2 separate regions of the Homo sapiens genome follow, and region 2 is linked to region 1. Evidence: promoter capture Hi-C in 16 types of primary human blood cells and fetal thymus (Javierre and others, 2016). All regions are on one chromosome and are shown on one strand. The core of a region is centred on a gene start or on the middle of the fragment in contact, and the rest is flanking DNA. Distances in the headings are between cores, read along the strand shown. Region 1 holds the start of EGFLAM-AS1 (EGFLAM antisense RNA 1). Region 2 has its middle 42 kb from the start of LINC01265.

Evidence for each region. The method cuts DNA at HindIII sites, captures the fragments that hold promoters and counts their contacts. A CHiCAGO score of 5 or more calls a contact.
Region 2: a fragment that was not itself captured here is called in contact with the fragment with the promoter of EGFLAM-AS1 in region 1 in 1 of 17 cell types (endothelial precursors); the score reaches 5.0 in endothelial precursors.

Annotation. Positions count from the first base shown.
Region 1 is chr5:38,422,710-38,428,951 of GRCh38, reverse strand. EGFLAM-AS1 (EGFLAM antisense RNA 1) reads left to right here and starts at 1,576. Exons shown (of 2, transcript NR_046737.1): 1 at 1,576-1,860; 2 at 3,871-4,097. EGFLAM (EGF like, fibronectin type III and laminin G domains) reads right to left here. Exons shown (of 22, transcript NM_152403.4): 13 at 3,860-3,985; 14 at 1,700-1,943. RefSeq lists an enhancer at 1,155-2,354. The HindIII fragment of the contact is 14,108 bases long and covers 1-6,242 here.
Region 2 is chr5:38,675,668-38,681,488 of GRCh38, reverse strand. No RefSeq gene overlaps it. Among named protein-coding and RNA genes, the nearest start is that of LINC01265, 42 kb to the left of the region's middle. The HindIII fragment of the contact is 4,165 bases long and covers 1,273-5,437 here.

The DNA of each region.
Region 1 (6,242 bases), core at 327-2,826:
AGGAGGGGATAGGATAAGGGGGCAGATGGTGGTTTGTCCCTCAGAAACTCTTGCCTCATTTTCATCACCTAATTCTTAAAAATTCTTTTTCCAGTTGCCTTTGCTGACAGGCAGTGAAACAATAACTTAGTAAATTTACAAAAAAAAATTAAAAGCACCTCGTGTCAAAAATAAGCACAGAGTTATGAAAGAGAGAAATGCTGGACTTCTAAGGGTTCCATGTGCTTGTGACCCCACAGCTGGAGCTGCCACTGCAGAGAGGCAGTGTGGAGGGGGTAGTCTGTCCAGGAGGAGGGCTGATGAGCCCAGAACCTCTCCTGGATCTTTCTGGTCATTCCCTATCCAGGAAGAAAACCATTTAAAAGTGCAAGGTGATATTCAAGGTGTCTTCCTTTGTCAACTTGACATACAGTTCTAAGTGAATTGCTTAGGCTATTTTGCATAATCATATGTAAATTGAATCAATTAAATCCCCACCAAAGTTGTCTTGAAATATAGGATGTTTTTGCATAACCAGAGGTACAACAATATTTGTCCGTTCCCCTAGAGGGGAAGGTGTCACTGATGTGCAGGAATTCAGCCACAAGGACAAAAACAAACCATCCTTTTTAAGAACTGTTAAAACCTAATGCAGTGAGCATTTTCTATCAGCCAGGAAAAATGATCAGTAGTTAAGGGCAATGCATGGTTGTAGCATCTCACCTACATACTCTTTTTAAACATGACAGTCTAGCAATATGGATAAAGATTGAAAACAGTTTGCAATATTCTTTGAAACAACAGACTAACTGATACCCTGTTACAGGGCACCATGGAGCAAAACATCCTAGTGAGTTTCAAAAAAGACGAATTAGACAAATGTAGGAACAAGAAGCATGTCTGCATGCGATTAGTGGCCCCTCTGGCTTGAAGGTTAAAACTACCATCAACACAATAAAAAGATGGGAGACATAAACAAATAAAAGCGTCTGCATCTACCAACTACAGGCTCCAAGGAACAATCGACCTGCTAAGTAATTTAATAGTACAAACTAGATAACAGTAGGAAAGTTTTGACTACTTACACCAATTCTGCAAATACCAGCAAGTACTGCAGAAGCACCCATTTCCTGCTATGCTATTGAAACCACTCATCACACATCTTTCTTGAGCATATTGCTTAGGGAACGGGTCTCTGCATTGCTGATGATTCACTGTCAATTTCCATTAAAGAAATAGTTCAAGAGGAAAGTGAATATTTAGAGTGAGGTCATCAAGGATATTTTTGTTCAAAAATATTTGTTAATACTTTTTTACTAGTTGACATGTATTTGCTGGGTGCCCATCATGTGATGCTCTGTATGAGATGCTGACTAGTTACAGTTCATCAAGTTTCTGCGGATGACATGACATAACTTTAGGTGGAAATGGAGGCAGTTTACCTCCACCTGAAGCAAGTCCATTTTCCATAGTTTGAAGCATACAATTGCTACCTGTTGGGTAGTTATTTGAGAAAAGGAAGCCTTGTGGGCAGGAGAGCACTCTCTATAGGAAGCCTGTCATCTGCCTGAAGCAGGACAAGTCAGGACAAGTTTCAGAAGATAAGCATGTAGAGAAGACAGGATGAGTGTGAGCTGTTGAATGGCGATTTGGTTTTTTTCTGAAGCAGTTACTATTTGCCTTTTTAAGGGAAAGAGTCCCAGAAGTTTTCAGCCCTCACCTGAGGACACCGGTCCCAGAGCCACAGTCAAAGCGGAACTCCACGTGGCCCCCTGCCAAGTTGATGGACAGGAAGTCTTTGCTGCCTGTGTCATAGCTGTACAGGAGGACACCATCTCCTGAGTCTGGCCGAAATGTGATCTCAAATTCCATGAAGGAAAGGTAATGCTGGGGCTCCAGTGGCCAGGGAGTTGCAGCGTAAGATCTCAGAGACTCTCTGAACTGAGGAATGGTCAAGGTGAAAGCTGAAAAAACAAGCATGGTGTTAGAAATCCCTCTGTGGCAGAAACTGGCCAGATGTGCACCCATAGCTGTGTTCTTTCCCTCCTGGGTACAGACCTAAACTACAATTCCCAGCAGCCCTGCAGTTAGGTTGGTGGTGTGACTGAATTCTGGCCAGTAGAACATGGGTGGAAGAATCATAGAGCACCCTAAGTCTGGCCCCTAAAACTTCCCTCCATCCTCCATGCTCTTTCTCTCCTCTCACGTGCTGGCAGGATGCAAGTATCAGTGGAGGACTCTAAGGCCCTAGAAGAGCCATTAGATGGAAGGAAACTGTGTCCCTGTATAACTGTGTGGAGCAGAACCCCCTCTCTCACCACCATCTTTGACCTGCAGTGATTTTGTAATATGAGCAAGAACCAGCCTTGATTATGTAAGGCTACTGAAATATGAGCTGGTATGTAACAGCATTGGCTTACCCTGACTCACATGCCCTCTTTTAGGTGACATGAGATTTGAGATCACAAAAGTTTTCCCCAATATGGTATCTTAGGTCCAAATCTGAATTAGGGAAGAATTTGACTAGTTTTGTGATCTTAGCCTCAGTTTTATTTTCTTTTTATTTTAATTTCAGAATTCTGCAAAAATGATTTTCCAAAATCACTTTTGGAACCCTCCATGATTTTCCAAAATCTTTGAAATTTTCTGTTATTATTTGCCTGTGTGAGCGCACATATGTGTATTTGTGTGCATGTGTTTCCATGTTTATATACACATGTGTGTGCATGTATATATATTTACATACTCTCTGTATATACAGTATTAAAATGTGGCATAATTTAGTAGAACAGTACAAAAAAAGGTTACTTTTGTCCCATCACATTGTTAACGTTTCTGTGTCTACCTTCCCTATCTTTTTTTTTTTTCCCAAGATGGAGTCTCGCTCTGTCACCCAGATTGGAGTACAGTGGTGCTATCTCGGCTCACTGCAACCTCCGCCTCCTGGGTTCAAGCAATTCTCCTGCCTCAGCCTCCCGAGTAGCTGGGATTACAGCTGTGCACCACCACACCCAGCTAATTTTTGTATTTTTAGTAGAAACGGAGTTTCACCACGTTGGCCTCGTGATCCGCCCACCTCGGCCTCCCAGAGTGCTGGGATTATAGGCGTGAGCCACTGCGCCTGGCCTCATCTTCCCAATCTTTTATCAGAAATTGACAGAAATTCTAAAGAGCATGAGCCTGAGCTTTAAAGGCTTTGAATTCAGTCTGATACAAACCATACCAATACAGGCTTTTTAAAAGTTATTCAAGGGCCAAGAGGAGCCCACTGATTCTTAGCATCTTGAAATGAACATATGTTTGGCTGAGGGACGGAGGTGCCCTGCAGTAAGAAGTGCTGAAAGGCTCAACATCAGATGAGTGAGTTCTCATTACCAAACAAATTTTGGCACTCAGAGACACTCCAACCTTGTTTAAAAAGTTTCCCCCATCTCTCCCAACAAAGCAATGTTGATCCCATAAAAATGTATGGGGCTTTGTTAGATTTGTTAAAAGTACATTGATGAGGCCTGGCGTGGTGGCTCACGCCTGTAATCCCAGCACTTTGGGAGGCCGAGGCGGGTGGATCACTTGAGGTCAAGAGTTTGAGAGCAGCCTGGGCAACATGGTGAAATCCCATCTCTACTAAAAATACAAAAATTAGCTGGGCGCCTGTAGTTCCAGCTACTCGGGAGCTGAGGCAGAAGAGAATCACTTGAACCCGGGAGGCAGAGGTTGCAGTGAGCCGAGATGCGCCACTGCACTCCGGCCTGGGTAAGAGAGGGAGCCTTTGTCTCAAAAACAAACAAACAAATTAACAAAGAAACTATATTGATGATAAAGTACATCTACACAAATTAACATGCAGATAGAAACCGCCTTCAACTTGCTTCTTTCTCACCATCTTCACAGTGTCGACCTTTAAACCCAAGGGGACAGAGGCAAATGTAGGAGTCGGCTTTGATTGCTGTGCAGGTGCCACCATGGATGCACGAGGCCTCATCACAGATTCCACTGCTGCATTCCCCTAAATACAGAATGGGAATTACAAAGCCAATCCTCCATGTGTGCCAGTCCAACACAGTGGCGCTGACCCCACCAGCAGCTCATGGTTCTGAATAAATACATTTCAGTTCTTACTCCTGTTGATTTGCAGCTCTGCACAACTGCAAATGGGCTTTCAGGATAAGTGGAACCTGCTCTTCATTTTAATTTGATTTTGGTTTGTCCTGTATGAAGAGCCATAGAGACTTTAAAAAACATGATGGACACAATAAATCAAATAATACATTTCTGGGCAATTTTATGACCACTAACTGGGATGACTAAGCTGTTTCTGCTTTAATTCATCTCTCTCTTGCTCCCAACAGAGCATATTTCAATCCCTCCAATGTCAACAGGGTGTTTATGTTAAAAGCATTCTAAATTGCATGACCCCAATTAGCTTAAGTGCTGCTGCCTTGTTGGTTCAAAGTTGAGACAAGCAAGGTAGGCACAGAAGGAGTTACCCAGCCACGTCTAAGCTGATTAACTCACCTGGATTGTCAACTTCTCTGTCTGGGGTAGGGAGCAGGGAGGGAGGGCCCCATAATACATTGGCACATGGGTTTCAGAATCCCTATTTCTACTTCCAAAGTTACACCCTGATGAGGGACAGAAAGGTGGCCTGTGGTAAGAAGGCTGAAAGGCTCAACATCTGATGAGTGAGTTCTCTTCACCAAACAGATCAGAGAGATCCAGAAAGGGTATCCTTTGTCATTTTCAAGTGCAGGTCATCAGAGGAAAACAAATGGACTTTTCATGGGCTGTTTTTCTTCTGCTTCTTTGTGTTTTCTCTTTGTGTGTAAGAAATCAGTTAGACAGATGGACCACCATCTGGCCCAGAACCACATGAGGGAGTACAAAACACTTTTTCTGGGGGTGGAGGTAGAAGGGCGTGCCTCTGGAAGTGAAGGGTCCAGCTGTGCTCTCTCCCAGTCTTCAAGGCTGCCCTCTGCATGAGCTGGTAGCCCACCCTGTGAGGGCAGGAGCCCTCCTTGGCCTGAGTGTGTCATCTCGGCAGGATGAATCTCTCACCCTTCCCTCCTTGAATTGGTCCAGTCTTTTCATAAAGACTCACTGGGAGGAGGGGTAAAGGCCAGGCACCCAGGTTAGACCCAGGAGAGGAGACTGACTTCAGGGACTGCTAACAGAATTTGATTAAAGCCCGTGCAGATGGCTTGCCTCCCCAGCTGGGGGTGGCTAGCCTCTGTGAATTCCAGCTGGTGGCTACTGAATGTTCAGGCAGACATGACCAGTGGTCTCCAGCCACAGCCCTAAGAATGTCACCCCCAGCATTCACAGCCTCCACAGAGATGCTGGCTGACTTTGATCTTAAAGAGCCAAACTCTCAAAGGTCCCTGAGCCCCGCCAATTTCTGTGGGTTGTGATTCCTTCCCAGAGCTTGGCTGGATCCACAGGAAGAAGCGGGATCCTTGTATGTTATTTTAGATGTACAGAAAAGGATTACATTACAAGTCTTATGCATTTTAACCATTTTTTAAGAGGTGGGGGTAGGGGAGGGGAGGTCATGAAAGCCAGATGGAGTTGCTGACTTGGTGAAAGCAGCATTTCAACAAGATTACTCTGGGAATGGCATGCAAAACAGACTGGTGAGTGATAGGAGTGGAGGAGATGAAAAAACTCCTATAGGGAGTGAACAGGATGGCCACAAAGAAAATGGAGAGACTGTGAAGGATCAGACATCCAAGGAAGTAAGAAATGAGAGATTCATTCTAGAGGCTGAAAGGCAAGAACACTCCTCCAGCACAATCTCAAGGTTTGTAGCTTGAAAGACTAAAATAATGGTGCAGGAGGGAAGAAATGAGAGTGGCTGTGAACAGGACCTGGCTTCTGCAAAGCAAAGGGAGAGGTTGCTTTGGTTGGATTTAAGTCTAAGGTGACTGTGGAAATACCCAGTGCTGGTATCAGGCCTTGAAAGAAAGGAGAGAGGTTCCCAGAGTTTCCAAACCAGTGTGGGTACAAGGTCACACAAGGCATGGCACCTGTGTGAGCTGGAGAGAACCTGAGCATGGGTGAGTAAGCCACAGCAGGGGCTCTGTGAACCGAGAAGGAAAATATATTGCATCTGTATCTTCCCTAGCCTCTGCCTGGAGCTGGGTATGTATTTCCATCAACTTTCAATACAGGCAAGATACTTCTAGTGTTAGTAGTTCTTGTGAGTTGTGACCAATAGACCTCACAGCTGTTGTCACCTTCCATTTATTGCACATTTTTTGAAGTAT
Region 2 (5,821 bases), core at 2,106-4,605, 250 kb before region 1:
AGTTTCTAAACAGCTTCATTTCCAATCAGGGAATAGCTTATGTGCTGGGAGCTTGTGTCAAAACATAAAGAGTTATGAATTCCTAACAAAATAACTGTCCAACAAAGAAGAAAACCAGCAGATGATATATGGAGAGAATGTCATATCCTGGAGCCAAAATGTAAAATGGAAGATGTATTCACCAGGCCTACAGATGAGGCAAGTCTATATAACTTGAGCTTTCAGTCCCTCTGCAAGTGAACAACTGAAGATAATGATCCCGCACCCCTGTGCTGATTGCATCATGAGCTTGCTTGTGTTCTGATGTTTAGCATTGTTACTGGGAGGATGGTACCACCATTTTGCCAAATAACCCAAGTTTAAATATTCATTTTATGTCATAGGTTCCTGCCAATGTGCATAGCAGGTTTATAAATTGTACTTTTGTTTATAGGCTTAGTCTCAAAAGCAAAAAAGCTTAAGGTTTTCTATTTTGATTGAAGTAGAAAACACGTGAAGATATTTGCTCAATCTGGCTACCTGGTATGGCATGCAAGGTTTGTACATTTTAAATGTGGCATAGGAACATAAAATGATATTTAAAAAGTAATCTTCTAGAACTTAGAAACCCTAAGGAATTTTGTCTCTTTTCAGCACATTCTCGTTGGGAGGTCATATACTGACTCTAGTTGTCTTGTTTTTCCTCTAAACATTTGGAACTCCTCTCGCAGAATTGTCTTCAGAGCCTGCAGAGCATTTTTCTGAAAGTCCTACTCTGTGCCAAGTCTTCTTCCTTTGGGGTGGGATGGGGGATGGGAGTCAGTGGAAGACAGTGAATTTAATGATTTCTGGAAAGAGCCAAAAGTCATCCAGAGGCCAAGCTGGTCAATGGCATGAGTATAACCATTTGGGGTTAAAAAAAAAAAAGAAAACAAAAAGACTGTCTATAAAGTGTGGAGCCTGGCCCTGTCGTCCAGCCTGTGAAGTGATGATTTGAAGGCAGTCCTCCAAGAGGCGTTCCCAAGCAGTTTGGCCCATGACTGTCATTCTCTGAATAAATGTATAGAATCTTCAGAAGTGGCTACTTTTGAAGTAGTATTTCAAACACTCATTTTTATATGATCCAGAGTTTGGTTCACAAACCATCATCGTCATACATAGAGAAGAGTCATCATTTGCTGTGGATCTGGAATCAAGATAAAGACTGGTAAACACATTTTCTTGATAACACAGAGAAAAGAAAATAATTTGTTGTGAATGTCTTCATTGTTCTTCCTCCCCCCACCCCAAGCTTGGTTAGGATTCAACCATTGTTTATGCATCTACAGTATATGCCCTAATATAAGGCAATGTCAAATATGAGACACTCCCATTGCCCAAGTAAATGCTCCCCTTCCCGTCACCAAAAATTCTAGGAACATAGCTAAAAATCATGAATCATCTGCTTAAAAATAGTTAATGTATTAATTTAGTTATACACATATTATAAATCATTTTATATATACTTATAAAATTGATGTGTTAATATCGTTTTATATAAGCATATTAACTTTTTATTTTTTTGAGACAGGGTCTCACTCTGTCACCCAGGCTAAAGTGCCACTGCCATGATCATGTGAGACATGATCATGGCTCACAGTAGCCTCAGCCACCCCAGGCTCAAGTGATCCTCCCACCTTAGCCTCCCACATAGCTGGGACTATAGGTGCACACCACCATGCTCAGCTAATTTGTATATTTTTTTGTTGAGATGGAGTCTCACCATGTTGCCCAGACTGGTCTCAAACTCCTGGGCTCGAGAGAACTACCCACCTTGGCCTCCCAAAGTGCTGGCATTACAGGCATGAGCCCCCATGCCCAGTCCCATTTTATATATTATCTTATATTTCACATAAAGATATCTGGTAATTGACATATTTTTCCTCCATCATATCTCAATTTTATCCCAAGCCACAGCATAGTATTAGGACAGTTTTCTCTCATTCTTCCTGAAGTTGCATATTCTGAATGTTTACTATGCAATCACTTACTGTAATACTTCAAAAAAGTGATATTTAAAAGGCTCACTCACATTAACACCCATTCTTGAAAATGTAAGGCCATTCACCCAAATGAAAGAATGATTAAATATTTATCAAAGTTCACAAATCCTACTTATAGACATTCAAATCTAGCATTAATTCAGGGTGTTTCAGGATAATGTGTCTTCCCTGAAAAGAACTGTGTTATTCAAAATTAAATAGTGAAGAAAACATCCTATGATTGGTGCCAATGAAAATAAAATGGTTCCTTCTTTCCAAGAAGAAATTTTGGGACATCAGTACCTGGTATTTGACTGTAAGTAGAGTTACAGATTTGCTCTGTCACCCTAAAAAGATTGAACATCTTTTTTTTTTTTTTTTTTTTTTAAGACAGGATCTCACTGTGTCACCCAGGCTGGAGTGCAGTGGCGTGATCTCGGCTCATTGCAACCTCCACCTCCCAGGCTCAGGCAATTCTCCCACCAATTGAACATCTTTCTGTATTTTCATTTCTGTTGAAAGGGCTAAAACAGATAGCCAACAGAAGTCAGAGTTCACAGGAAGAATTGTGATTAGAAAGACAGTGCTGAATGGACACTGGTCACTCAGAAAGAGGGAGGGTGGAAAGAGGGCTAGGAATAAAAAAACTACTTATTGGGCTGGGCGCGGTGGCTCATGCCTATAATCTCAGCACTTTGGGAGGCCAAGGCAGGTGGATCGCGAGGTCAGGAGATCAAAACCATCTTGGCCAACATGGTGAAACTACGTCTCTACTACAAATACAAAAATTAGCTGGGCATGGTGGCGCATGCCTGTAATCGCAGCTACTCAGGAGGCTGAGGCAGGAGAATTGCTTGAACCAGAGAGTCGGAGGTTGCAGTAAGCCGAGATGGCACCACTACACTCCAGCCTGGTGACAGAACGAGACTCGGTCTAAAAACAAACAAACAAACAAAAAACACTACATATTGGGTACAATGTACAGTATTCAGTTGAGGAGTGCACTAAAGTCTGAGGCTTCATCACTATACAATTCATCCATGTTACCAAAACCCATGTGTACCCCCGAAGGCTATTGAAATAAAAAATATGTATAAAATAGGTAGGTATAGATAGACAGATAGATAGATATAGATAGATAAGTAGACAGACAGCTAGACAAAGACAGTTCTATAAACAGAGAACAGAATAGGTTTGTTTTCTTTTGGCATACAATAGGGAAAAAAACAAAACATAGTACAATTGTTTGCCCCTAGAGATGGGAATCAACATCTCTATGCACTGGATTACAAAGCAAGTACCAAAAAGCTCTGCATTTGTGTGTATGGAAAAAATAATAGAAAATAGCTGAAGGAGAGAGGGAGCAGAGAAGTAAGCCAAAAGGACAGGAATCTATTAATATTTAGTTAAATAATAACGCCCCTTGTACCAGCACATCATCGAGATTTTGGCTTAGGGTTTTTAAAAGATTTTCAGCTTTGGGGTTCTTATAAACTGTCCTGTTTTGATGCTAACCCTCATATAAACTGTCACTATCTTTATCATGGCTAAAGCCAATATTCTCATCCTGACTGGGTCGCCAGATATTGTATGGCCTTGGTGGCTGTTGGCTGTTCTCATGTATTCAAAACGGTTCATGGTGTTGACTCCTTTACAGGGACAGCAGTGTTCCATCTCATGTCAGGCTCCCTGCTGTTGGCAGCAGCTTGCTGGCTTCTACATTAGATTTTGGAGACAAAGAAATAAAGGCATTCTTCTGGAGAATGGGTGAAGAGCCTTAGTTATAAATTTCTCTCCTTCACCTGCTTTGCAGGGTCTCAAAATTATGGCCTTCAAAGTGCCATCCATAGCCTGCTGACTGGTTTAGTAAGCTGAATGAATCAGGGTTCTGCAGAGAAAACAGATTCAATAGAACCAATATACAAAGAGATTCACTGGAAGTTATTGGAACAAAATTATGGAGGCTGAAAAATTCCGTGATCTGCTGTCTGCAAGCTGGAGACCTAGGAGAGCCGGTGGTGTAGTTCAAAAGCCTGAAAGCCTGACAGTTAATGGTGTAGCTTCCAGCCTGCATCTGAAGGACGGAGATCCAAGAGGGCTGGGGGCCAGAGAAGATCGATATCCCAGCTCATACAGTCAAGCAGATACCAAATTTAATCTTCTTCTGTCTTTTTGTTCCATACTCACTGCATTGGATGATGCCCGCCACCCATCCCTTGCCCCAAATTAGAAAGGACCATCTGCTTTACTCGGTCCACCAACTTAAATGTGAATCTCTTCCAGAAACTCCCTCACAGATGCACCCAGAAATAATGGTTAACCACCTATTTGGGTATCTTTGACCCAATCAAGTTGACAAACAAAATTAACCATCACATATACCCTGATCCATAATCATCTGCATTGTGATTTCCTCTTCCCAACTCTGTAGGCACTTTTCCTTATAATCTCTGACAAGCACTGGCATGATTTGGAAACAGCATTATAGCCTTTAAAAAGAGCGGATGTGGATAAATAACCTTTTCTATTTCCTGTATTGTTTATTCCTTTCACAACACTCCATTGGCCAGAAATGTTGACATTTACATGGATTTAAACATGTCATGAATAAAAATTCCTTTTAGTCCCAGAAAAATGAGTTTGTATATATCTTCTAGAGCCCGAGGAGGTGATGAGGGGTAGTGGAAAAAGCTGGATGAGGAGTGAGTTGAGCTGTGGTCTTGTTTCAATCCCCAACCCCCCATCTGTGGACTGTAGGCAAGTCCCAGACTCCATCCTGTCATCCTGCCCCGCATTCATGGAATAAGAATTAACTCGTTCACCTCTCAGATTTTGTCAGGGTCTAGCATTCTTTGTTTACATGTAATAATGGCTGCTGGATACTGAGCACCTATCTGAACCAGAGACTTTGTGGGGACCTACAAAGGTCACCCTTTTAATTTACCCATCAGATCTGGAAGGTGAGGGCATTATTTACCAGTAAAGAAACTAAGGCTTAACAAGTTAAGCAACTATCCTAAGGAAGACACCTTCTCTTTGACTGGATCCTAATGAATGGGCTAATTCATTTCTGAAGAAGTGGAACAGAGGTTTCAGAACAGAGACAGAGATCAGCTGGAAGGGTTTCTCAACACACATTTTGTTTCTTTTCCTTACTTTGCTTTATCTTTCTTAGCCCTCAGGTGGGCAGAATTGAGTCAACTCTTCTTTTCATGACTCATTATCGACACTCGTCTATGTAAAGCCCCTCATATTATTTTCACATTTTTCCTCTTCATCTCCTGTATCACAACCCTCCTGCTATGTGCATTCACTATAGTGTATTTACTCTATGTCTTTGCAATCCACTTTCCCCGTGTTTATTTAGACAAATATGCCCTTGAAAAATAATGTTATTTAGTGTCAGTGGTTTTCATTTACATAAATGCTATGAAGCTTCTAATCTCATCCTTTTTTTCTTTTTGCACTCAACAGTGTATTTTGAGATCCCATCCGTGTTGCTCTGTGTAAATAAATCTTGTTCATTATGTGTGATGAACTCATAGTATTCCATACGTCATATCACATATTTTCCTTATCAATTTCCCTCATCAACAGACATGTAGATTGCCTTCAGATCGTTGTTACCACAAACAGTCTGGGATGTGCATCTTCTAATATGTCTTTGTACCCGCTGATATTCAATTTATTTGAATTGTATGCCCAGGAATTGGATTGTTGGCTCACAGTGTGTATGCAGTCATAATTTCACCAAGTTTTGCCAGGTTGCTTTCTAGAAAAGCTGCACCTCTTTAAGCTTCCCCTAGTCATGTATGAGGTTT